4 separate regions of the Homo sapiens genome follow, and regions 1, 2 and 4 are each linked to region 3. The links are contacts of gene promoters, found by promoter capture Hi-C in blood cells and fetal thymus (Javierre and others, 2016). All regions are on one chromosome and are shown on one strand. The core of a region is centred on a gene start or on the middle of the fragment in contact, and the rest is flanking DNA. Distances in the headings are between cores, read along the strand shown. Region 1 overlaps CFAP57 (cilia and flagella associated protein 57). Region 2 holds the start of LOC124904165 (a long non-coding RNA gene). Region 3 holds the start of SZT2-AS1 (SZT2 antisense RNA 1). Region 4 overlaps CFAP57 (cilia and flagella associated protein 57).

Region 1 (5,939 bases), core at 1,499-3,998, 230 kb before region 3:
CTATCTAATGTTTGTATCTGTTAGCCAATCTCTCTTTAGCACCCCACCAACCCATACACTCTTCCCTAGTATCTATCATGCCACTCTCTACTTCCATGAGGTCAACTTTTTTTTCTTTTTTTTGAGATAGAGTCTCACTCTGTCGCCCAGGCTTGAGTGCAATGGCATGATCTCCGCTCACTGCAACCACCGCCTCCTGGGTTCAAGCGATTCTTCCACCTCAGCCTCCCAAGTAGCTGGGATTACAGGCACATGCCATCATGCCCGACTAGGGTCAACATTTTTTAGCTCTCACATATGAATGAGAACACACAATATTTGTTTTTCTGTACCTGACATATTTCACTTAACTTCACGACCTCCAGTTCCATCCATGTTGCTGCAAAAACATGATTTCATTCATTTTTTACGGCCAAATAGTATTCCAGTGGGTATATATACCACATTTTCTTTATTCATTCATCCACTGATGGACACTTAGGTTGATTCCATATCTTTACTATTGGTGGTACAATAAATATGGGGGGGGCGGTGGAGCGCAGGTATCCTTTCAATCTGCTGATTTCCTTTCCTTTAGAAAAGTATCCAGTAATGAGATTGCAGGATTGTATGGTAGTTCTATTTTTAGTTTTTTTGAGAAGTCTACATACTGTTTTCCATAGTGGTTGTACTAATTTACCTTCCCACCAACAGTGTATAAGAGTTCTCTCTTCTCCACATTCTTGCCAGAATCTGTTATTTGTTGTCTTTTTGATAATACCTACTCTAATTGGGGTAAGATGGTATCTCATGGTGGTTTTGATTTGCATTTCCCTGATGATTAGTGATGTTGAGCATTTTTTCATATACCTGTTGGCCATTTGTATGTCTTCTTTTGAGAAATGTCTATTCATGTCCTTAGCCCACTTTTTTTTTTTTTTTGAGATAGAGTTTTGCTCTTGTCACCCAGGATGGAGTGCAATGGTTCAATCTCGGCTCACTGCAACCTCCCCCTCCTGGGTTCAAGAGATTCTCCTGCCTCAGCCTCCCGAGTAGCTGGGATTACCGTGCCTGCCACCACGCCCAGCTAATTTTTGTATTTTTAGTACGGATGAGGTTTCACCATGTTGTCCAGGCCGGTCTCAAACTCCTGACCTCAGGTGATCCACCCTCCTCAGCCTCCCAATGTGCTGGGATTACAGGTGTAAGCCACCACGCCCGCCCCTTAGCCCACTTTTTAATGAGATTTTTAGATTTTTTTGTTTGTTTAATGTTGAATTGTTTGAGTTCTTTGGTATTCTGGATATTGGTCTTTTGTCAGAGCAATAGTTTGCAAATATTTTCTCCCATTCGACAGGTCGTCTCTTCAGTCTGTTGATTGTTTCCTTTGCTGTGCAGAAGCTTTTTAGCTTAATGTCCTGATTGTGGCTTTTTCCACTCAGCTAAATCTTCAAATCCATCCAAGTTGTGTTGTGTATCAATCATAGTTTATTCCCTTTTATTTCTGAGTAGTATTCCATGAAAAACAAATCACAGTTTGTATAGCCATTCACCTATTGTAGGATATTTTTAATTTTTTCCAGTTTTCAGCTATTATAAATAAAGCTGCTGTGACCAATCATATACAGGCTTTTGTGTGGAAATAAGTTTTCATTTCTCTGGGATAAATGCCCAGGAGTATAATTGCTGAATCATATGGTAAGTGTATATTCAGGTTTGTTTTTTTTTAAACTGCCAAGCTATTTTCCAGAGTGGCTGTACCATTTTACATTCTTACCAAGAATGTATGAGACCCAGTTTCTCTGCATCATTGCCAGCACTTGGTGTTGTCACTGTTTTTTATTTTAGCTGTTCTAATGGGTGTGTAGTGATATCTCATCATGGTCCTAATTTTGCATTTTCCTAAATGGCTAATAATGCGGAGTATCTCTTCATGTGCTTACTTGCCATCTGTGTATTTTCCCTGGTGAAATGTCTCCTTATCTTTTGTCTACTTTCTGATTGGATTGTTTGGCTTTTTTACTGTTGAGTTTTGAGAGTTTCTTGTTCGTTCTAGATAATAGCTGACTCTTCAGATTCCAAATCCACAGAGAATGTAGACGTAACCTTACTTCTTCTATTCATTAACAGATGCCTGTGAGGGCTCCTCTCTCATTCTTACCTGGGATCAAGTTTACCTCCCTGTGAGGCTGTGCCCAGGATTGCATGGGGGGAAGCCTTGCGCAACAGCTGGCTCAGCCCTGGTCATCTGTGGCCTTGAAAGCTTCCTGGCCATGACCCTTTTTCTCTTCAGATGTTGCTTACCTTTGATGATCAGTTCCTGCTGACTGCTGCTGAGGATGGCTGCCTGTTCACCTGGAAGGTCTTTGATAAGGATGGCCGGGGAATCAAGCGAGAGAGGGAGGTGGGCTTTGCCGAAGAGGTGCTTGTGACTAAAACAGACATGGAAGAAAAGGTAAGAACTGGATCTAATGAAGAGGGATATGGAATTACTTACCAGACTGCATTCAGATGCAGGTCCAGCACTGGGGCCCTCTACAGCCTGGCTACACCCTATGCCCAGTGCAGACCCCCACGGCTCCCTGCACATCTGCTGTCCCCACAACCAAGCTCTCCTCCTCATTGCCACTGTCCACCCGACTCTGCCTGTCTTTCTGCCATGTGATCATCTTGACTTACACTGTGCTTTGCTTTTATTCTGTGATCTGGTTTTCTCTTCCTACTCTTTGAAACCAAGAATAATGAAACATACAGTTCTCTTATGACCAACAGTTCCTAGCACATGCTGGGCACATGGAAGACAATCAATAAATATTTACAAAAGTAAAGTATGTTCTCATTTAAATCTCACAACATCTCTATGAAGAAGATACTGTCATTCTCCCCATGTTTCAAAAAACAAGTTAGGAGAGCTTGAGGGATGTGTTCAAAGTCAGTGTGCTAATAATTAATAGGACTAGAGTTCTAATCCAGATTTAATCCAGAGCCCCCTCCCTTAATCACTATACCAAAGGGACATCCCTTCCTTCCTGTTGATGCAGTAAACATTCCATAAAGGTGTGTTTTGCAGAGATATGAGTGCATAGCTCTGTGTTACGCTTCCTAAGGGAGAAGCTGAATGGATGATAAACACACAAGGCTCATGGAGGATCGCAAAGCTACACAGTCATTGCTGTTTGTCCAGAATCTTAAGTGTGTTTATTGAACACCTACCATTTGCTAGGCACTGGGGATGCACATGTGAAAAGACAGTTGTGGGCCCTGTGACATGACCAGGAAGCTTACAGTCAAGTGAGGGATAGAAACAAGTAAAGCCATCAGAGCAGCAATACAACACTGCCACAAAGCACGGTGACAAGCCCCTGGCATTCGCTGGAGATCCCTTCCAGAGCTCCCTAGAATTTTCTGCAGGAAAAGCAAAGAGGGAGAAGAGGATGAGGGAGGGGCCCGTGAGAGTGGGGGCCTGACCTGCTGCAGAAGGGACATTTCCTTTTCTCTGTTATCTTTTCTGTTCTTCCCAGAGGGTAGGGGAAGAGGCCAAATAGGAGACAGCAGGCTGAACCAAAGGCCTGAAGGTGCCCAAGCTGGCTTCTGACCACAGCCCCCAGATGGGCCTGACAGTACCGCTGCCAGGCTGGAAATGACTTGTGCATATACCGCTCCTTCTTGAAACTCCCTTCTGTCTTACCATCCTTGTGACCACACTCTGTTCCCTGAAAACCTTTCTGACTCCTCCTCCCCGCTTCTGTCCTGGCTCTTCCTCCGCCTGTCCCTTAAAAAGCATGTTCCCAGAATTCCCAACTCTCTTTATATTCCATTATAGTCTAAGTAACTCTCAGGCCATGATTTACCTTCTCTGCCTAGGATTTACAGAGGGGTCTGCTGTGTACCTGACACTATACTAAGGTCTGGGATTACAGAGATAAAAGACATAAAGCATCCTTTAGCTGATAGCCTGGGAAGAGGGCAGAGTATCACAAAGAAGGGAATTAAACGTGCAGTGGAATGAAGTGTCATGAAAGAACGATGCTGTGGGAGCACAGGGGAAGGAACTTGGCTCAGGCCAGGTGGTGCCAGAGGACATGAGCCTTGCTCAGATCCTTCCAGGACAAATGGACAAGGGCCAGTGAGCAATGAGCAGTGAGTGTGTGCAGAGGGATGAGGGAGTGGTGGTCTGCAAAGCTGCTCCTAGTTAGGTTGTGCCAGAGAGAAGGGCTGAAGATGAAGCTGGAGAGAAACAGGTCAGGGGGGCCTTTTACACCCTGCATTAGGCTGGACATTGTTCATAAGGACCATTCATAAATTTAAGCTGGGGAATGACTTAACATGATTCGCATCTCGGAGAGAATAATCTGCAGCAATGTGAAGAATAGATGGAGGAAGGACACTGAACAAGGACCTCAAACACAGCATGTCAAAGGCCGGGTCATTCCCATGGATAAATATATCCCACTAGCCAGGGCAGACCCCTGGGATCATTGATAAGTATTCATTCAGTGCTGACCATGCTGCTAGTTTTATGCTAGGTTCTGGGGATAAAGCAGAGAAGCAAGACAGGCCAAGCCCCACCCTCAGGTACCGGTCCTTCTACCTAGGAGACAGCCTTCATCCATGATCCTTACCTCTCCACCCCACACCCAGTCAGGCACTATCCTCTCTAAACTCACTCTCTCCAACCTCTCCATTCCTCTCTGGTCCCCTTCCCTACCTCAGTCCAAACCCTGTCTGTCTCTCGCCTGGTCTATGCAGTTGCCGCCCACCCACCCCAGCAACTCATCATCCTGCCTTTGGTCCTTCCTTAATCTAGTCCGTGCTGCGTACCGCCATTGGAGAGATCTTTATAACACCAAAGTCAGCCTGATCGGGTTCGATGAGGACCTTTGGAAGCCCTCTAAGATAAAATCCAAACTTCCTAGCATGGTCTACCGGGCCCCTGATGGTCTGACGCAGTCTTGGCTGCCCCTTCCTATACATCCAACCTGTGCCATATCACATGCAGTGAGTGCCCTGGCCAGGCATTCCTGCTCCATCCTCTCTGACTTTGCACGTGCAATTTGTGCTTATCCTTCTTCTCAGTACTTCCTGTGCACCAGATCCTCACTAGTCTGCTGGCCAGGAATGCAGAAATGTGCGTAATCCATTCCTTGATGTCAAGTCGTTCACAGGTGGTAGAGGAGACAGACCAGAAATGATGAGATAGGGATGCACGGGGTGTCCCCATAGGTAAGCAAGAAGAAAACACTGCATTCTGACCCACTCTGTCATCAACATTAACTTTTTAAGGAAATGAAGGGTGTGTGTATTATAGTATTTTTAGAAAACTTTGGCATCATTGAGTACGATGGGAGAAGACACTAGGCCGGGTGCGGTGGCTCAGTCTGTAATCCCAGTACTTTGGGAGGCTGAGGCAGGAGGACTGCTTGAGCCCAAGAGTTCGAGACCAGCCTGGGCAACATAGTGAGATCCCCATCTCTACAAAAAATATAAAATATAAAAATTAGCCAGGTGTGGTGGGGCATGCCTGTAGTCCCAGCTACTTGGCAGGCTGAGGTGGGAGGATCACTTGAGCCCAGGAGGTCAAGGCTACAGTGAGCCATGATCACACCACCGCACTCCAGCCTGGGTGACAGAGTGAAACCATGTCTCAAAAAAAAAGAGAAAAAAAGGAAGAATAAGAAGATACTAGGCATAAAAACCAGCAAGACAGAAGAGTTAGGACCTATATTAAAGTATTAAAAGTGAGTCTAAGAAGACATCAAGAGGGACAGATTGGCAGTACTGAGAACCACCCAGCTTTGGGCACTTACCACAATTTGTAATAATGTGTTTGTCTGGCTGCCTCAGTAGACTCTAAGTTACATGGGGACAGCCATCATGCTTCAATAAATATCTTCTGAGATCTTACTCTGTGTTAGACATTGTTCCCGTACTTGGGATATATCAGCAAACAAACCCTACAA
Region 2 (5,546 bases), core at 393-2,892, 220 kb after region 3:
CTTCCAAGACTAGAGTCACTCTCTCAGATGACAGAAAGCTTTCTTTTCGTCATGGAAAAAATACTAATACTTGGGGAGCAGCAGTGTGTGCTTAACACATAAGGGATTGCGAGGCTATTCAGCATGCTTCCTGTTCTCCAGAGTGTTATTCTTGTTGGTGAGACAAACATTGGTTCTCTCTCCTCTCTCTGTGCTGACCCATCTTTGAGTCTCAGCATTTTTTTTTTTCTATTTTGAGACAGGGTCTCACTCTGTCACCCAGGCTGGAGTGCAGTGGCACCATTATGGCTCACTGCAGCCTTGACCTCCTGGGCTCAAGTGATCCTTCTACTTCAGCCTCCCAGGTAGCTGGGTTTACAGGCGTGCACCACTATGCCCAGCTAATTTTTTTCCTTCTTTTTTTTTAGGGTAGAGATGGGGTCTCACTATGTTGCACAGGCTGGTCTCAAACTCCTGGGCTCAAGCAGTCCTCCTACTTCAGCCTTGCAAAGTGCTAGGATTACAGGCATGAGCCACTGTACCCGGCCCATCTCAGCATTTTAGTGAAGGTGCTGCAGATAACAGCAGTGAATAAGATGGATGAGATACCTACCCTCACACAGATAGGAGACTGGTCAGGAGGTAGAAAGTGTGAGAGAATGCTCATACGGTGTGGGGACAGCTCTGAAGGGGAAGAAGTGGGTGCTAAGGTCCACATAAGAAGGATAGATGGGATTAAAGAAGGCTTCTTTCAAAGAGGTGACAAGTGAGACCTAAAACATGAGAAGGACATAACCGGGTGGAGTGGTGGTGGGCTTAGCAGCTGGGAGATTGAGGGAAGTGTATCCAGGCAGTTGGAACCACAGACGCAGAGCTCCTGGATTAAGACAGCACATGAGGGCCAGGCGTGGTGGCTCACACCTGTAATCCCAGCACTTTGGGAAGCCGAGGTGGGTGGATCACCTGAAGTCAGGAGTTGGAGACCAGCCTGGCCAACATGGTGAAACCCGTCTCTACTAAAAACACAAAATTAGCCAGGCGTGGTGTGTTTAGGGAGCTAGGGGGAGTCTGCTGTAGTTTGGGTGCTGTGTAAAACGATGAGAAGTGAGTGATGAGGCCGGAGGGGACATCATGGGGCACATTATGGGGAGTCATGAAAACCATATCCACTTTCAGGTCTTTTTTCAGCATCTTCAGCCATGTTCTTTCTCAGGGGTTTTCCTTTCTTCTTTCAAGTGCTCTCCAGTTTCTAATCTTGGGGGAAAGAACCTTTTGAGCCTATGATTATCTCCTAACTACTGTCCTGTTTTTCCTTCCTCAGAAGGCTAGACTTGTAGGATGTGTAAATGTAGCTTTTGTGTCTTCACCATTGTTTACTCCAAAATTCACTGCTCCTGGATTTTTGAATTCTCTTATAAAAGAAGGTTTTCCAGTTATTATATACATTCTTAGGTCCTCTGAAGTGGGACCTCCAGAGCCTTCTGTATAGGGTTGCCTGATGGATCCCAGAGTCCTTTAGGTGACATTTTTGTCAACTCTTCTTCTCTGTTTTGTTTTATAATGAAGCTGTTTGCAGTGGGAGGATTTGTTGTTACTGTGGAATAATCTTCAGAAGAGATTAAAAAGGTTAAAACAGAGTTACTGTGAGTTTCAGAATATAAAGTTTAACAATTTTGCAAAAGTTTAATAGTCCTAGGTGTTCTTTTTTACTTTTCATTTTTTAGGAAGAGCAGTTTCTATGGTGTTTAGACACCCTACTGGGTAGAGAGGTAATTGATTGTTGGGTAATCAGTATATGTAGCTGTTGGGGAGATAAAGGGAAAGTGGGTTCATCAGCAGATACGGGGCTAGGTCTCTTAAGTGTCAGATCCATCTTTCACTTTGTTTTCCATCTTCCTCTTGCCTGCCCCCAGTTAGGCCTTTCAAGCATTTAAAAATACTGAGCATTTTTAAATACTGAGGTTATATAGTGACATCCTTCTTTTTTTTTCTTTTAAAAAATGTTATTATATGAACAACATTATAAAGGAGAGTAATATTATGTACCGTAAATCCTGGCTCATGGTGAACACTTAATAAACATCTTATTAAGTGAATGAATATAGAAGAAATAAATTCACTCACCTTCTTTATGGGCTCCTTACTCCTGTGCCCAAACAGTCTAATATTTCATTTTTTCAGATTCCTTTCTACTGCTTGGGAAGTTAAAAAAAAAATCTGCTATTTCAAGGTGTTTTGAGAGTGGGAATAAGTCCCTTAGCTTCTGTACCTGCCCTCCACCCAGCCTCTGATGCTCTCATGTGATTGCAGGTACTCTGTTCCACCTGAGCATGGAAAGCGGTTGGAACGCCTCGCCAAAGGTACTGTGTCTCTTCTGTTTGCTGGATTGGACCCTCCTATGAGCTGTGCTCCTTGCTCTGCACTAAAATGTGCGTTCCCCATGGTCAGATACTTGCAGGTCCTGTTGCAGGCCTGCAGACGGGGGTGAGCCACACTGGTTACCTTAAGAGGGCAGTGACGGAGCCTTTTCTTCCTTTGTCCTGACTGTCTGTGCCTCAGTTTTAATGAGCAGGGGTGTTTCTTTGACCAGCGATAATGAACCAGACCCAGTATGACTGGTGTTTCCACTAAAGACCCAAATGTTAAAGAAAAAATTGAACTTTATGCTTTGTTTCTTTTAAGTGGACTTAGATTTGTATGTCTGGAGAACATAGGAAAGCCTGGGTAGATGATACTACAGCTGCATTACTGAAAAAAGATCAGGGATACAAGTGACTGGAGAAAAGGTCCTAAATAGTTTCAAAGCTCTATAAGAACAGAGGCAGCTTGGGTGACCTTGGTTTCCCAAACAGGATTTCATTACCCACGTAATGCCCTACATGGGAGTGAGCCTAGAGGCTCATTGCAGAATCTTAGAATTGGTGCGGAGCTATAAGGATCCTCAGAGGTCACATTGGTGATGCATCCTCTTTATCATTCCGATGAGAAGCACAGGTGTGAAGTGACTCCAGGATTGCGGAGCTAGTGTGGAGCACTGTGTTAACCTGTACCCTTTCAATTAAATAGGCTTTTTCCCAGGAAGTGCTCAAAGCTGTGAGGCATTTCTCCGCCACAAGATGACCCTGATTTCCCCGTTAATGCTGAAGAAATATGGAATTCCCTTTGACAAGGTGAGCTGATGTTACATGCCAAAGTTCTCAGGCACCACCCTTTCTGGCCTTTGTTTTACAGTTTTATTCTAGTTCATCACTATACCAAGAGGGGGCCAAAGCTTAAATAAACTATGTAACAACACTTTGATCTAAGAGCATTAAAGGTGGGGCCACTGTAGCTTCCTGGTGCCAGAGGAGAGTCAGATCCCCTAGAACAGTGTTCATTTGGAGGAATGGTTAATTATAGTCATGTCATCTGATATGTCTGGGCTTTGCATTTTATAGAAGACAGCAAGGACCCCAGGGGTTTTATGACTTACCCTTTGTTACTCAGCTAAGTTGTGGTGGAGCTCAGAATTCCAGTTCTGTGGACTTCTGCCATTTGAAGCAGCTGCTTCAAGTCTGCTCTTGTTCAGGTGACTCAAGAGGCTGGAGAGTTTATGATCACTTTCCCTTATGGTTACCATGCCGGCTTTAACCATGGTTTTAACTGTGCGGAGTCTACCAATTTTGCTACCCGTCGGTGGATTGAGTACGGCAAGCAAGCTGTGCTGGTAAGTCTGCTTGATTTCTTTCTATAACACCATGACAAAAATGAGCAAATTCTGGTTAGATACGTTGGCTGGTGATTAGAGTATTTCTTTGAGCTGCTGGAATTCAGAAACAAGCAGCTAGCAATGTGTCAGAGTACTAACATTTTGTGTTCATAAGGAATTTTTAAAAATGTGTTCAGAATTGGGAAGTATAAAATGAGGTTCTTAAGTCCATTAGGCATTAAAACCACATCCACACACGTTAATACTCTTGTTTATCCATTCCGAGATTTCTCTGTTGAAATTTTTAGGGGTTTCCTTTACTCTAGGGAAGCAGCAGGGTCGGGCCTTTGACTGATAGTAGTAGACTTGCTTGTGTGTTCCTGGCTTGGACAGGGAACAAGGGCAGGTGGCTCACCGTCCTGGGGGCCTAAGTGCAGAGCCTAACCACCCTCTGTGACCCCGAGTTAGTGCCCAGGTAGATTTGCCCCAGTAGCATGTGCTCTCTGCCTTTTTTTCCCTGCTTCCCTTCATGTTTGAAGGTCCTGCAAGGATAACATGCCCTCAGCCTGTGAACCAAAACAATCTGGTTATAAACCATCTTGCACTTGTTTCCATGTGGAGGGAGGAGCTAGGACGTGGGGGTGAGTTGGAAGCAGCAAGGTATGCTCACCTGGTGCTCTTCTGGTTCCTGCTGACAGTGCTCCTGTAGAAAGGACATGGTGAAGATCTCCATGGATGTGTTTGTGAGAAAGTTCCAGCCAGAAAGGTACAAACTTTGGAAAGCTGGGAAGGACAACACAGTTATTGACCATACTCTGCCCACGCCAGAAGCAGCTGAGTTTCTTAAGGAGAGTGAACTGCCTCCAAGAGCTGGCAACGAGGAGGAGTGCCCAGAGGAGGACATGGAAGGGGTGGAGGATGGAGAGGAAGGAGACCTGAAGACAAGGTAACCCAGCAGCCCTTTTGTCCTGGCTGCGTGAGGGAGGGATGTCTGGGTAGGTCCTGTAATCTGTGGAGAGGCTGTTTCTTGTTTTTTTTGTTTTGTTTTGTTTTTGTTTTTGTTTTTGTTTTTGATGGAGTCTCGCTCTGTCGCCCAGGCTGGAGTGCAGTGGTGCGATCTCGGCTCACTGCAAGCCCCGCCTCCCGGGTTCAGGCCATTCTTCTGCCTCAGCCTCCCGAGTAGCTGGGACTACAGGCACCTACAGCCACGCCTGGCTAATTTTTTGTATTTTTAGTAGAGACAGGGTTTCACTGTGTTAGCCAGGACGGTCTCGATCTCCTGACCTCGTGATCCGCCCACCTCGGCCTCCCAAAGTGCTGGGATTACAGGTGTGAGCCACCGCGCCCGGCCGAGGCTGTTTCTAAGATGCCGTTTGTGCCTTGGCTAAGGGAGTGTTCTTGGTAAAGGCTCCAGAAACCTGAGAGCCAGAGCATTCAGGCACTTTCTGAATGAGAGACCTGTAGTGGGCGTGTAGTCTGCTGGAGCAAGGCGTCAGTTATATGAGGGTCGGGGGCATTTATGTGCGAAGGTCGGGCTCCCTCTGAGCCAGAAAAGTCATGTTTTCTCATCATATCAGAGAGTCTTTTAAAAAGAAGTGTAGTGAGGATGAGACTCAAGGGCATTGGTAATGTCGTGATTTAAGTCTGCAGTGCTATTGGTGGCTGAGCCAGGGGATCTGTGCTCTGAGGAGAATTTATCCTGGGCCATATGGGAAAGAAAGGAGGAACCGTTCCTTGGTACCTGCTATATGCCAGGCACTTTGCCAGCTACTCTGCATACCTTTTCTTAATCCTCACAACAAATCTGTTAGGTGGGTGGTAATACCTGTATTTTCCAGATGATTGAACAAGGTCAGAGAGGTGAAGTCCCTTGTCTCAA
Region 3 (5,836 bases), core at 3,087-5,586:
ACTGGTCTTGAACTCCTCAACTCAGGTAGTCCGCCCACCTCAGCCTCCCAAAGTGCTAGGATTATAGGTGTGAGCCATCACGCCCGGCCTGCACATGTGAATCTTGTACATGCTCCTAAGCCTCTGGATCTAGGACTTAATGATTCCTGTCCTTATCATCCCACTGACCTCTCCTGAGATTTGATGTAGTTCTCGGCCCAGGGAAGTCCTTTTCTCACCAAGGACCTCTGTGCTAGGCCTACTTGCATCACTGTCCTTGGCCTGTTCTTGGTCATGTTCACCCACTGGCCAGTACTGACAGGTCTGAGTCTTGGGAAGTAGGCAGCCCGTCTGTTGCCACCTCCATCTCCCCTGAGCTCAGGGACAACTCTGCAGCCACCTTTTCATCCACTGTCAAATCTCAGATTCCCGTGTTTGTGGCCCCTGCTCTATGTTCCTCTCCAGATTCTGTGTTCTCTGCCCTTTCCCAGTGGCTGTATGCGAAAAATGAGCTGTTCACCTTACACATAGCTACTTTCGTGTCTCCAGATTTGTGAGTTTATCAAGGCATGTTCTCCCTCCTCTCTGTTTTCAGTTAGAACCTTTTCAAGCCAGTAGTCCAGAAATGCCAGTTCCAACTCTCTCATGTTTCTGTGACCAGCTCCCCACTCCCCAGGTTTCCCTCTCTTCCAGGCATTAGGAAGAGAAGGCGTGCCTGCCCCTCCTGTGATCCCATCTCAGAGGCCAGGCTGGCCCCTCCTACCCTGGGGAGGAGCTGCCCAGCTTGCTATCTTGACAGCCAGTTCCCAGCTCTAGGAGCTTCTCTAAAGGACTTTAGTTTGCACACTTGCCATAAGTTATGCTCTTTCCCCCAAATCTGAATTCCTTTAGACACTGGGTTAAAAAAAAAAATGTTTCTACAGCAAAATTTAAAGCCAGGTCTTCCCTTCCCACCAATCTTTAACAATCACCAATCACTAAGTCTTGTCCCAGTTTCCTTGAGGTTTAAATGGGACATTTTTTCCACCAGAGGTTTTGACCCCCAGCAAGAATTCTGGCAGTTTATAGCCCCTTGGCGTGAGTGGGTCCCCCCAACCCCTTCTGTTCTGTCCCTTCTTCCCAGTCCCTCCCCTGCTTCCCTTCTCCCCTATCCTCTGCACTAAACTGTAACGAGCAGTAGGCCTCTGAAAGCCTGGAACTGCCATCCCCCCCAATCAAAAGACAGCAGCTTTGCCCTTTCAGAGGAAGGTACCTAACCAGGCATCAAGCATCTCCTTGAATTTTCCTAATCAAATTGTAGACAGGCATCACCTTCCCCCTTCTCTTTCCTGCCCAGCACACACCCTCTCAGTAGCAGAGGCTTAGTCTCCACCTCCCCACTGAGCACTGTTTTTGCCTCCCTTGAAGCAGCAGCTGCTATGGAGAGAGCCCAGCCTTGCAGTCTAGACCTGGACTCCAAGCCCAGCCTTGCCACTCACAGTGGCAGCTTTGTGGGTCTGTTTCCTCCCTTGCAAAATGATTCCATATAAAACAGATTCTGGGTCTGATCACCATGACTGCATGCCACTAGCCTGCCTCATCCTCTTATCCCTCCTCCTTTTCTATAGCACCAGCCGGCCACGGGCCATGGCTATCCTTGGAACAGAGGGTCGAGGCTCCTTCTCCTGCCCTAAAACCAAGACTGATGGGAGCCCCAAGGTAACTTGTCATATAATGGTAAAGTTACTGATGCTAAATTACTTTCCCACGGCCTGAGGTCATTGACCCTGAGTGATGTACCGAGGTCACTGATCCCAGACTGACACCATTAAAGTCAGGGTCCAAGGGACTTCCACCCTACTGATTCGAGGCTGGTGAGCCCCCAAACCTTGCCCCCTTTTTTGTTTCTTCAGAGCACTAGCTCTCCGGTAACCACCTACCACCTGCAGCGGGCACTGCCTGGGGGCATCATCCTCATGGAACTGGCATTCCAGGTAAGCAGGAGGAGCACTGAGTGGAGACAGCCAGACCCACCTGTCTCTCGCCTTCCTGATCTCATCTTCACCTTCCCTCCAGGGCTGTTACTTCTGTGTCAAACAGTTTGCCCTGGAATGTTCCCGAATCCCAATGGGGCAGGCTGTCAACTCACAGGTATGTGAATGAGCTGCGGGCACAGTCAGTGCACCCCAGTGTGCTGTGGGCAGCATGGCTCCATGTCCCATTTGCTGGGCAGTAGAGTAATGCAGTAGGCGGGCTGGCCCAGTGATTGATTCACTGCTATGGCCTGGCTAGGTCAGTGCTCATTCTGGTGCCATGACTGCACTCACTACAAGGCTGACCCCATCGGTCATCCAAAGCGTGTTCAGCTGTAGCCCTGAGGCAGCACAGTGCCTGGTCTGGCCTGTAGTCATCTAGAGTCTGTGGCAGACCCTGATGGAATCTGGGATAGAGCAAAATGGCCCAGTTTCTGAAAATGGCCCTAGTTTCATGGAGATAGTTACAATACAGTATGAAAAAGGGAGGCTAGAATGGGGAGGCCTTCCCACAGAAACCATTCTGGCAGAGGGCGTTCCACTAGGCCACAGCAGCAGGGGAAATCTTGTGCTTCTTCCCACGGAAGGAGGGAAATGTGTTTTGGGCAGCCAGTGCAGCCATACCTTAACCCTGTCTCCTGCTGCTGCCTCCCCAGCTGTCCATGCTGTTCACAGAGGAGTGTGACAAGGTGCGGGACCTGATGCACGTGCACTCGTTCAGCTATGACTTCCATCTGCGCCTCGTGCATCAGCACGTGCTAGGTGCCCATCTGGTGCTGCGGCACGGCTACCACCTCACCACCTTTCTGCGACACTTCCTGGCCCACCACCCTGACGGACCCCACTTTGGCCGCAATCACATTTACCAAGGTCAGTGCCCAAGGGCAAGCCAGTGAACCCAAAAAAGAACAGGCCACAGGTGCCTCCAGGTCAGGGCTGGTGGGACCACCTCCCTGGACAAGTGGTCCCATGTTGTTAATCATCTCATGTCACACATACCACGTCCCCATGTTTCTGTCCTGTGTCTGTTTCTTACCAGAGTTTGGACCCCATGTCACATGTCCCCTGCCCTCTGAGTCACTTCTGTCCCATCTCAGTGTTCCACAGGAATGCAGGAGCTCCTAAGGAAAGCAGACCCACTCTGCCTGCCAGTCAGAGCCTTAAAGACTCCCATCCCTGTGCCCCACCAGACCAGTGTGTCTGTCCTAGGCTTAGTGTCTGCTGTCTCCTGTTACTTATCCCTCAGGGACATTGGAGCTCCCCACACCACTCATTGCTGCCCACCAGCTATACAACTACGTGGCTGATCACGCCAGCTCTTACCACATGAAGCCATTGCGAATGGCCCGGCCAGGGGGCCCAGAACACAACGAGTATGCCCTGGTGTCGGCATGGCACAGGTAAGGCTGAGAGGGGCATCCAGCATGCACGCTGCAGGAGCTGGGGTTGGGACATACTTGCAGTAGGGAGACCAATGTTTTCTTGGGCAGGGGTGAGGTTTGTTTTATTAGAACCCCAGAGTTGACATCTCCCCAACCCGTCCTGCACAGTTCTGGCTCCTACCTGGACTCTGAGGGACTTCGACACCAGGATGACTTTGATGTGTCTCTGCTTGTCTGTCACTGTGCTGCACCCTTTGAGGAGCAAGGAGAGGCTGAGCGGCACGTTCTGCGGTCAGCAGATCCCCTACCTTGAACATGCCCATTTCCCAGCCTGCCCCACCCTGCCCTGTGTGTCTCTTGCTACAACCACCACTCTCCTGCCCTGCTCCCCACCCCAGGCTACAGTTCTTCGTGGTGCTCACCAGCCAGCGAGAGCTCTTCCCCAGGCTCACTGCTGACATGCGCCGCTTCCGGAAGCCACCCAGACTGCCCCCTGAGCCAGAGGCTCCTGGGAGTTCAGCTGGCAGCCCTGGGGAGGCCTCAGGGCTTATTCTAGCGCCTGGACCGGCTCCTCTGTTCCCACCACTGGCTGCAGAGGTGGGCATGGCACGAGCACGGCTGGCTCAGCTGGTGCGGCTGGCTGGAGGGCACTGCCGTCGGGACACCCTTTGGAAGCGCCTCTTCTTGCTGGAGCCACCGGGGCCTGATCGACTGCGGCTAGGGGGGCGCCTGGCCCTGGCAGAGCTGGAGGAACTCCTAGAAGCAGTCCATGCCAAATCCATTGGGGACATCGACCCCCAGCTGGTAAGGAACTGTGGGCTCCCGAAAGAGCTGGGATAGGTGCCAGGAATTCCACTGGCAGCCAGGGCAGAGGGCACAGGAATCTGAGGTGACTGGCACAGAAGACTCAGGCCTGTGGCTCCTCCCTCAGGACTGCTTCCTATCCATGACGGTCTCCTGGTACCAGAGCCTGATCAAAGTTCTCCTAAGCCGCTTCCCCCAGAGCTGTCGCCATTTCCAAAGCCCAGACTTGGGAACTCAGTACCTGGTAAGTCCCCTTGAGCTTCCTCTGAAAAGGGAAACACAGCAGAAATCCTCACCAAACAGATGTGCCCCTCAGCCTGACCAAACAAGCTCTGCTCTGGAGGGAGGCCTAGACAGAACGGGACTACACAGATACATGTAAAACCCTTCCAGTACCGGGCATCGAGCTACAGCATGTGATTCTCTGAGCAGCTCTGCCCTCAAAGACTCACCAAGAATACAAGCCTTGGCTTGAGATCCTGAGGGCCAGGCTCTGGAACTGACAACCCAAGGAGCTGTCAGAACTTTGTCAGTAGGCTGGAGCCCCAGAAAGGACCCCTTGGACTTTGAAGCCTTGTTACTTAAAGTGTGGTCCACAGACCAGCAGCCGCAGCACCTGGGAGCTTGCTGAAATGCAGGCTCTCCGGCCACATTTCAGACTGTTGACTCGGGATCTGCAGGTTGACAGTCTCCCCAGGTGATTTGTGTGCACACTGAGGCGTGAAAGCACTGCTGTAAAGGACAGGTAGAGAGAACTGTGGTGGTGGACACGAGCACAGGGCATTAAGGAGCCCACAGAGATGGGCCCAGCCAGAGCTGAGGTTCAAGAGAGGAGGCATTACAAGAGAAGACTTCAAGTGAGAAAGTAGGAGGTGGAGCCAGGTGAGGGGTCCTGCAGCACAGTGCTTGTGCAGAGGATTCATTTCAGGGTGCAGGAAGGGTCTCCCAGAGAAGCCAAGGTCAGTTAGGATGAGGCTGCAGTAGTGTCGGCGGTTGTGAATGGAGGCAGGTGCTCCTGCGGGTGGTGGGAAGGCTGGAGCAGGAGTGGGTTTTGGGGAAGGGTGACAAGCCCAGCTTGGGGCAAGCTGAGTCTGGGGTCCATAGGCCCTTCACTGTCTGCAAGGTCTGTGGGCATCAGGGATTCGAGCTCAGGAGAGTCCTAGGCAGCAGCTCTGTGAACAGGCGGTAACTGAAGCCTTGGGAGAGCAAATCATCCCGGGATGGATCACCAAGCAGAGCGTTAGGGAGCAGATGGACATAAGGGGACGACAAGACAATCCCAGGGGTGGTCAGAGAGGAGTCCCAGGACAGGAGGCAAGGAGGTTGTGCCAGGGGTACAGCACTCTCTGTTGATTGGCTTCAGTGTGCCAGGCTCTGTGTGGGGCCTCCAGGATCAACTGTTACCCCTCATTCTGATGCAGCTCAGACAGGCTGACCAGCAAGCCAGCGAGGATGAGGACTGAGGCTCAATTTGGAGACACGGTCCTATGTGACCTCAGGGTGCAGGCGGGGTGAGGTGTGGAGATGGAAGTAGGCCTCTCCTCATCCTCCCTTCACCTCAGGATGCCCTGTGGGAGGGTCTGTAGGGTCTGTGTCCCCTCCTCATCTTTCACTGCAGGTTGTGCTGAATCAGAAGTTCACTGACTGCTTTGTGCTAGT
Region 4 (5,252 bases), core at 1,269-3,768, 210 kb before region 3:
TTTTCCTTAGTAGGTTTTCAGATATCTTCTAGGATGTTTGGATTCTCAGGGACACCTGCTCCACAGCTGGGCACCATGGCCTTGACTAACTGCCTGGCCTTGAGGGTTCAGACAGTGAACATACACCCTTAAGTAACCTGGTGGGGGACCCATCACACTACAATCAGCAAGGCCTGGGTTGGTTCAAAGGGTAAAGCATTCGATGGAGAAAACATCTGATTCAGAAACACAAGTACAAATCCTAGCATGAAGAATGAGGGGTTGACAATGAGGACTGGGCATTTCATCCGAGACAGAGAGATTTCATTACTATAAAGGAATACCTGAGGCTGGGTAATTTATAAAGAAGAGAGGTTTATTTGGCTCACAGTTCTGAGGGCTGTACAGGAAGCATGGCACCAGCATTGCTTCTGGTCAAGACCTCAGGAAGCTTTCACTCATGATGGAAGGCAAAAGAGGAGCAGGCGTGTCACATGGCGAAAGAGAGAGTAGGAGAGGAGAAGGGGCCGGTCTCGCTCTGTCGCCCAGGCTGGAGTGCAGTGGCACGATCTCGGCTCACTGCAAGCTCCGCCTCCTGGGTTCATGCCATTCTCCTGCCTCAGCCTCCCAAGTAGCTGGGAGTACAGGCACCCGCCACCACGCCCGGCTAACTGTTTGTATTTTTAGCGTAGACGGGGTTTCACCATGTTAGCCAGGATGGTCTTGATCTCCTGACCTCATGATCCACCTGCCTCGGCCTCCCAAAGTGCTGGGATTACAGGTGTGAGCCACCGTGCCCAGCCGAGGCCAGGTTCTTTTAAAACAACTAGTTCTTGCAGGAACGAATAGAACAAGCACTCATTACTGCGAGGATGGCACCAAGCCCTTCATGAGGAATCTGCTCCCATGACCCAAATACCTCCCTCTAGGCCCCACCTCCAACACTGGGGATCAGTTTTCAACAGGAGATTTCGAGGAGACAAACATCCAAACTATATTGTAAGGAATACTGAAATTAAGTAATATACTGGAAGTCTAAAGGTGTAGATCTGTGCTTTAGATGAAGCATTTCTGGAGGAAAAGAATCATTGCGGTGTCTCTAGCCCGACCCCTGCTCCCTTCTGGGTTCCACAGGTACCTCCCCACAGCAGAGGACCGTTTGTCACAGCTCAGGGAGAACAGTGCTTAAGACCATCCTGTTCTCTGGGCTCTGACTCCGTAGCCACCACTCGTGAGATAATGTCCCAAGTAGAAGCACAGTTTGTTCCTGGCACAGGTCCATTTTATGTAGATTTGGCCTGCAACTGCCTTTTCTGGTATACAGACCCTCAGGTGCTTTGCAACTGAAAGTGTGGTCTGGCCTGCAGACCAGCAGCAGCATCTCTTGGAAGCCCAGTGCAGGATTTCAGGGCCCATTCCAGACCTATGAGTCAGAGGGGCATCTAACAAGGTGGTCAGGTGATGTATTTGTATGGTCATACACGAGGAACTGCTGTAGACAAGCTGACTACTGTGGCTGTGGGCTCTAAGAGCAAAGTGGCCAGTCTCTTTGGGCCCTTGGGGATGGGGCTCCTCCTTGGGGTACTTGTGCTGGGTGTGAAATGGAAGGCAGAGATTTGAGGTGTGGGAAAAGAGGAAAGAGACTGTTTGGTCCCAGGGTGCAGAGCCTGCACCACCTGGCCCCCAGCAAGCTTCGTCCTCACTCCTGTCGACTCCCCTCCTTTCACTCTGCATTCCAGTGATGCAGGACTGTTGCAGGTCTCCCCCACCCCCATCAGCTGTGTCACATTCTGTGCCTTTGCTTCTGCTGTTCTAGTTGTCTGGGACACCCTTTACCCTCTCCTTGGTGACTCCTTCAAGCCTCAGCCCAGGGGTCAATTCCTAGGAATCCACCCTAGTCATTCAGGCAGAAGGAAGCATCTTTCCTCTAGGCCCACTCCTCCATCACAGCAAGGTGGCCACCATGTTAAACTGTACCCACACCCCGCACTAAACTGTAAACTCCTCAAGAGCAGAAGCTAAGATTTACACTCTCTATACTCTAGGATTAACATAGTATCTCCATAATATTGGATGACTACATTATAGGTACTCAATAAACATTTATTAGATGAATGGTTGGTTGGATGGATGGATGGATGGATGGATGGATATTTGTCAAACACAAATAAGAGAAGTGAGCTTCCAATGGATGCAGCAGATGTTAATTATCCATTTACTTTTCTGTTTTACTCACTAAATAGCATGCTGCTAAGGGCAGACCATATCCTATTTCTGTTTGCACTTTATGGACTTACCAGATAGCCTATAAATGTGGGTTCAGCAAATGAATGAAAAATGAATGAAGTATAGCACAGTGCTTACGAACTCTGGAGCCAGACTGTTGGGGTTGGAATCCTGACTCTACCACTTGCTAGCTGTGTAACTGAGCAAGTCATATACCTCTCTGTGCCTCACTTTTCTCTTCTGTAAAATTGTGATTATAATAACAATTTATAATTGTTTTTGTGATTATAATAGCCATATAATTATATATATATAATATAATAGCCATATAATAGCCAATAATTGTGATATAATAATAGCCATAGGGTTATTATGATGCATTTAAACTCATATAAAAAGTGCATGGAAAAGCATTGTTGTTGCTGTTGACGTTGCAACAAGCATGGGTGGATGTGAATGGTGCTGAGTCTACCCGAAAGTAAGTTAGCTGGTTCCTTAAGAGGCTGAGCAATAGGCTGGAATAAAGGCTCAGGCCCCAATAGAGGATCCAGAGTTCTGGATCCAGACCTAACCCTGCCCATTCCCCATACACTCAGCCCAGGAGGGTATGCCTTGTGCCCACTGACCACTCATCCATCCACCCTCCCTCTCTCTTCCCCCTTTTCTGCAGGAAAATGTCTCTCTGATCAAGGAAATTAATGAGCTCCGCAGGGAGCTGAAGTTCACTCGGTCCCAAGTCTATGACCTTGAAGCAGCTCTGAAACTGACCAAGAAAGTCCGACCACAAGAAGTTTCAGAGACAGGTAATATCACCAGTGGCCAGGGGAGATGGGCACTGGGACGAAGGGATTGATGGCAGCTGCAGGCAGGTCTCCCTTTGGCTTCCTTCTGTATCAGGTCCCATCTACACATGGCCTTCTGGGATCCTGTCCGGGGCACACACCTGCTCTTTGAGGAATCCATGAGGGCCTTCCCACACTCCGACACACACAGGTCCACAGTCCCCTGGCTGACATCCTTGAGGTTAGCTACCGTTCAGAATGCAGACTCTTTTAGATTTTAGAAAGCGAATACTTTATATAACATTCCCAGAGGGGTCTGGGGCAGTGCCCTAAAATCAAACACTTTAGTATTTCTGTAGTGACATATGAATATTCACACTAAGCTTCCTGAATTTAAAAAAGCACTCTGTTTTTAGATCTTCTTGCATTTTAGAATAGTGAATAAGGGATTGTGAACCTGTACAATTAAAATGAAGACAAAAAGCAAGATGAGGAGCTATTTAAAGGAAGAGGGGAAATAATTACATAAATATTAAATGAGTCAGTTACTGCAATTATATCCTAAAGTTCCTCTGAATTTCTGACGGCCAAGGCAAAAAGAGAAACAAAGAAATATGATCGTTTATATCATGCTCATTGTATGGCAAAAGGGAGCTTTTTTTCTGGAGAAACAAACGTTTCCCTGGCAATAAATTCTCTGAGAAACTTACCACATGGATCCTTACAAAAGGAATGTGGAGTAACAATGAACAGCCTTTAATTACATATGCCGCTTTCAGGCCCCAAAGAAGCATTTTTCAAGTATCCACTCCTTATCTGGACAATCGATAAAAACCAAGAGATTAAGGCATCTCTATGGCAAATTAAGCCAACATGGTTCAAGTTTTTGTTTTCTGGTGGTTTACATTAAGGAATAAAGATTAGAGGCTTGAACTGAAACATCCCATAGCTATGGATTGGGTCTCTGAAGTGTCAGTTGTCTCTTGTCCCATGGTCACATAAGCTTATGATGGGGAAAAGTGGCTGAAAGGTACACAGGAACCTTGTACTATTTTTGCAACTTATTGTTAGTCTTCAACTATATAACTATATACATTTAATTACAAAATTAAATACATATATAAGATTTTATGTATATGTATATAATTTTGTTGTCTTGTGCACTTTTGGCTAGGGTTGAAGTTGAAACAAGAGTAAACCCTGAGTAGTACCTGAAGTGGCAATACCAGGCCTACAGGGTTGATGTGAGAGCATAGCGTGTGTCATAAAGACTGAGATACTTGGGGCCAGGTGCGGTGGCTCACATCTGTAATCCCAGCACTTTGGGAGGCCGAGGCAGGCAGATCACAAGGTCAAGAGATCGAGACCATCCTGGCCAACACTGTGAAACCCCGTCTCTACTAAAAATACAAAAATTAGCTGGGCGTGGTGGCGCGGGCCTGTAGTCCCAGCTACTCGGGAGGCTGAGGCAGGAGAATCACTTGAACCTGGGAGGCAGAGGTTGCAGTGAGCTCAGATTGCACTACCGCACTCCAGCCTGGACAACAGAGTGAGACTCCATCTCAAAAAACAAAAAACAAAAAAACAAAAAAACCTGACATGCTTGACTTCTCAGAGGTGAAACCATCTTCTCTTGAAAATAAAGCACAGATGTGAACAATTGCAAAACTTCTCTTAAAAAATGTTTCAGGCCAGGCGCCGTGGCTCACATCTGTAATCCCAGCACTTTGGGAGGCCAAGGCGAGCGGAACGCTTGTGCCCAGGGTTCAAGACTAGCCTGGGCAACATGGCGAAACCACATCTCTACAAAAAATACAAAAATCAGCCGGGCATGATGGCATATGCCTGTAGTCCCAGCTATTCGGGAGGTTGAGGTGTGAGGATTTTAGAGTAAAATTGATCACCTGAACCTCAGAGGTTCAAGGCTGCTGTGAGCCATGATCACGCCACTACACTCCAGTCTAGGTGACAGAGCAAGACCCTGTCTCAAAAAAAAAAAAAAAGTTTTAAATATGTCCAAGTATCCTAACAAATATTCATTTGAGACCTCCTCAGGATGCCATGTGATATAGCCAGGGTCTTCATATTACTATCTTGGAGATTTCCAGACATATACAAAAATTGAGAGAGAAGTCTAATCAATTCCTGGGACCCCAGTCCCCTACTTCCAACAAATATCAACTCCTGTCACTTGTGATTCATCAACATACCCCCACCCCGACCCAGAAGCCAGAGTGGTGAACCTAGAAGAAATCCAATGTATGC

What was found. The method cuts DNA at HindIII sites, captures the fragments that hold promoters and counts their contacts. A CHiCAGO score of 5 or more calls a contact.
Region 1: a fragment that was not itself captured here is called in contact with the fragment with the promoter of SZT2-AS1 in region 3 in 1 of 17 cell types (M0 macrophages); the score reaches 6.4 in M0 macrophages.
Region 2: a contact is called between a fragment that was not itself captured here and the fragment with the promoter of SZT2-AS1 in region 3, in 1 of 17 cell types (M2 macrophages). The highest score is 5.0, in M2 macrophages.
Region 4: a contact is called between a fragment that was not itself captured here and the fragment with the promoter of SZT2-AS1 in region 3, in 1 of 17 cell types (M1 macrophages). The highest score is 5.1, in M1 macrophages.

The regions. Positions count from the first base shown.
Region 1 is chr1:43,212,983-43,218,921 of GRCh38, forward strand. CFAP57 (cilia and flagella associated protein 57) reads left to right here. Exons shown (of 23, transcript NM_001378189.1): 12 at 2,273-2,434. It overlaps LOC105378685 (a long non-coding RNA gene), which reads right to left. Exons shown (of 5, transcript XR_007066041.1): 2 at 2,284-2,411. Among named protein-coding and RNA genes, the nearest start is that of CFAP57, 44 kb to the left of the region's middle. The HindIII fragment of the contact is 1,017 bases long and covers 2,241-3,257 here.
Region 2 is chr1:43,663,407-43,668,952 of GRCh38, forward strand. KDM4A (lysine demethylase 4A) reads left to right here. Exons shown (of 22, transcript NM_014663.3): 6 at 2,290-2,339; 7 at 3,046-3,149; 8 at 3,548-3,685; 9 at 4,366-4,613. It overlaps LOC124904165 (a long non-coding RNA gene), which reads right to left and starts at 4,426. Exons shown (of 3, transcript XR_007066050.1): 1 at 4,338-4,426; 2 at 3,452-3,706; 3 at 224-1,585. RefSeq lists enhancers at 835-914, 1,205-1,264, 2,906-4,105. The HindIII fragment of the contact is 3,212 bases long and covers 37-3,248 here.
Region 3 is chr1:43,444,308-43,450,143 of GRCh38, forward strand. It overlaps SZT2-AS1 (SZT2 antisense RNA 1), which reads right to left and starts at 4,337. Exons shown (of 2, transcript NR_046744.1): 1 at 3,796-4,337; 2 at 3,469-3,625. SZT2 (SZT2 subunit of KICSTOR complex) reads left to right here. Exons shown (of 72, transcript NM_001365999.1): 63 at 1,587-1,677; 64 at 1,872-1,952; 65 at 2,035-2,109; 66 at 2,648-2,861; 67 at 3,238-3,391; 68 at 3,542-3,664; 69 at 3,772-4,177; 70 at 4,305-4,421; 71 at 5,796-5,836. MIR6735 (microRNA 6735) reads left to right here and starts at 4,232; the gene lies at 4,232-4,304. The HindIII fragment of the contact is 12,682 bases long and covers 1-5,836 here.
Region 4 is chr1:43,240,352-43,245,603 of GRCh38, forward strand. CFAP57 (cilia and flagella associated protein 57) reads left to right here. Exons shown (of 23, transcript NM_001378189.1): 22 at 2,876-3,008. The region is part of intron 1 of LOC105378685 (a long non-coding RNA gene); the gene reads right to left. All of the region lies in intron 1 of LOC124904164 (a long non-coding RNA gene), which reads right to left. Among named protein-coding and RNA genes, the nearest start is that of TMEM125, 27 kb to the right of the region's middle. The HindIII fragment of the contact is 1,700 bases long and covers 1,669-3,368 here.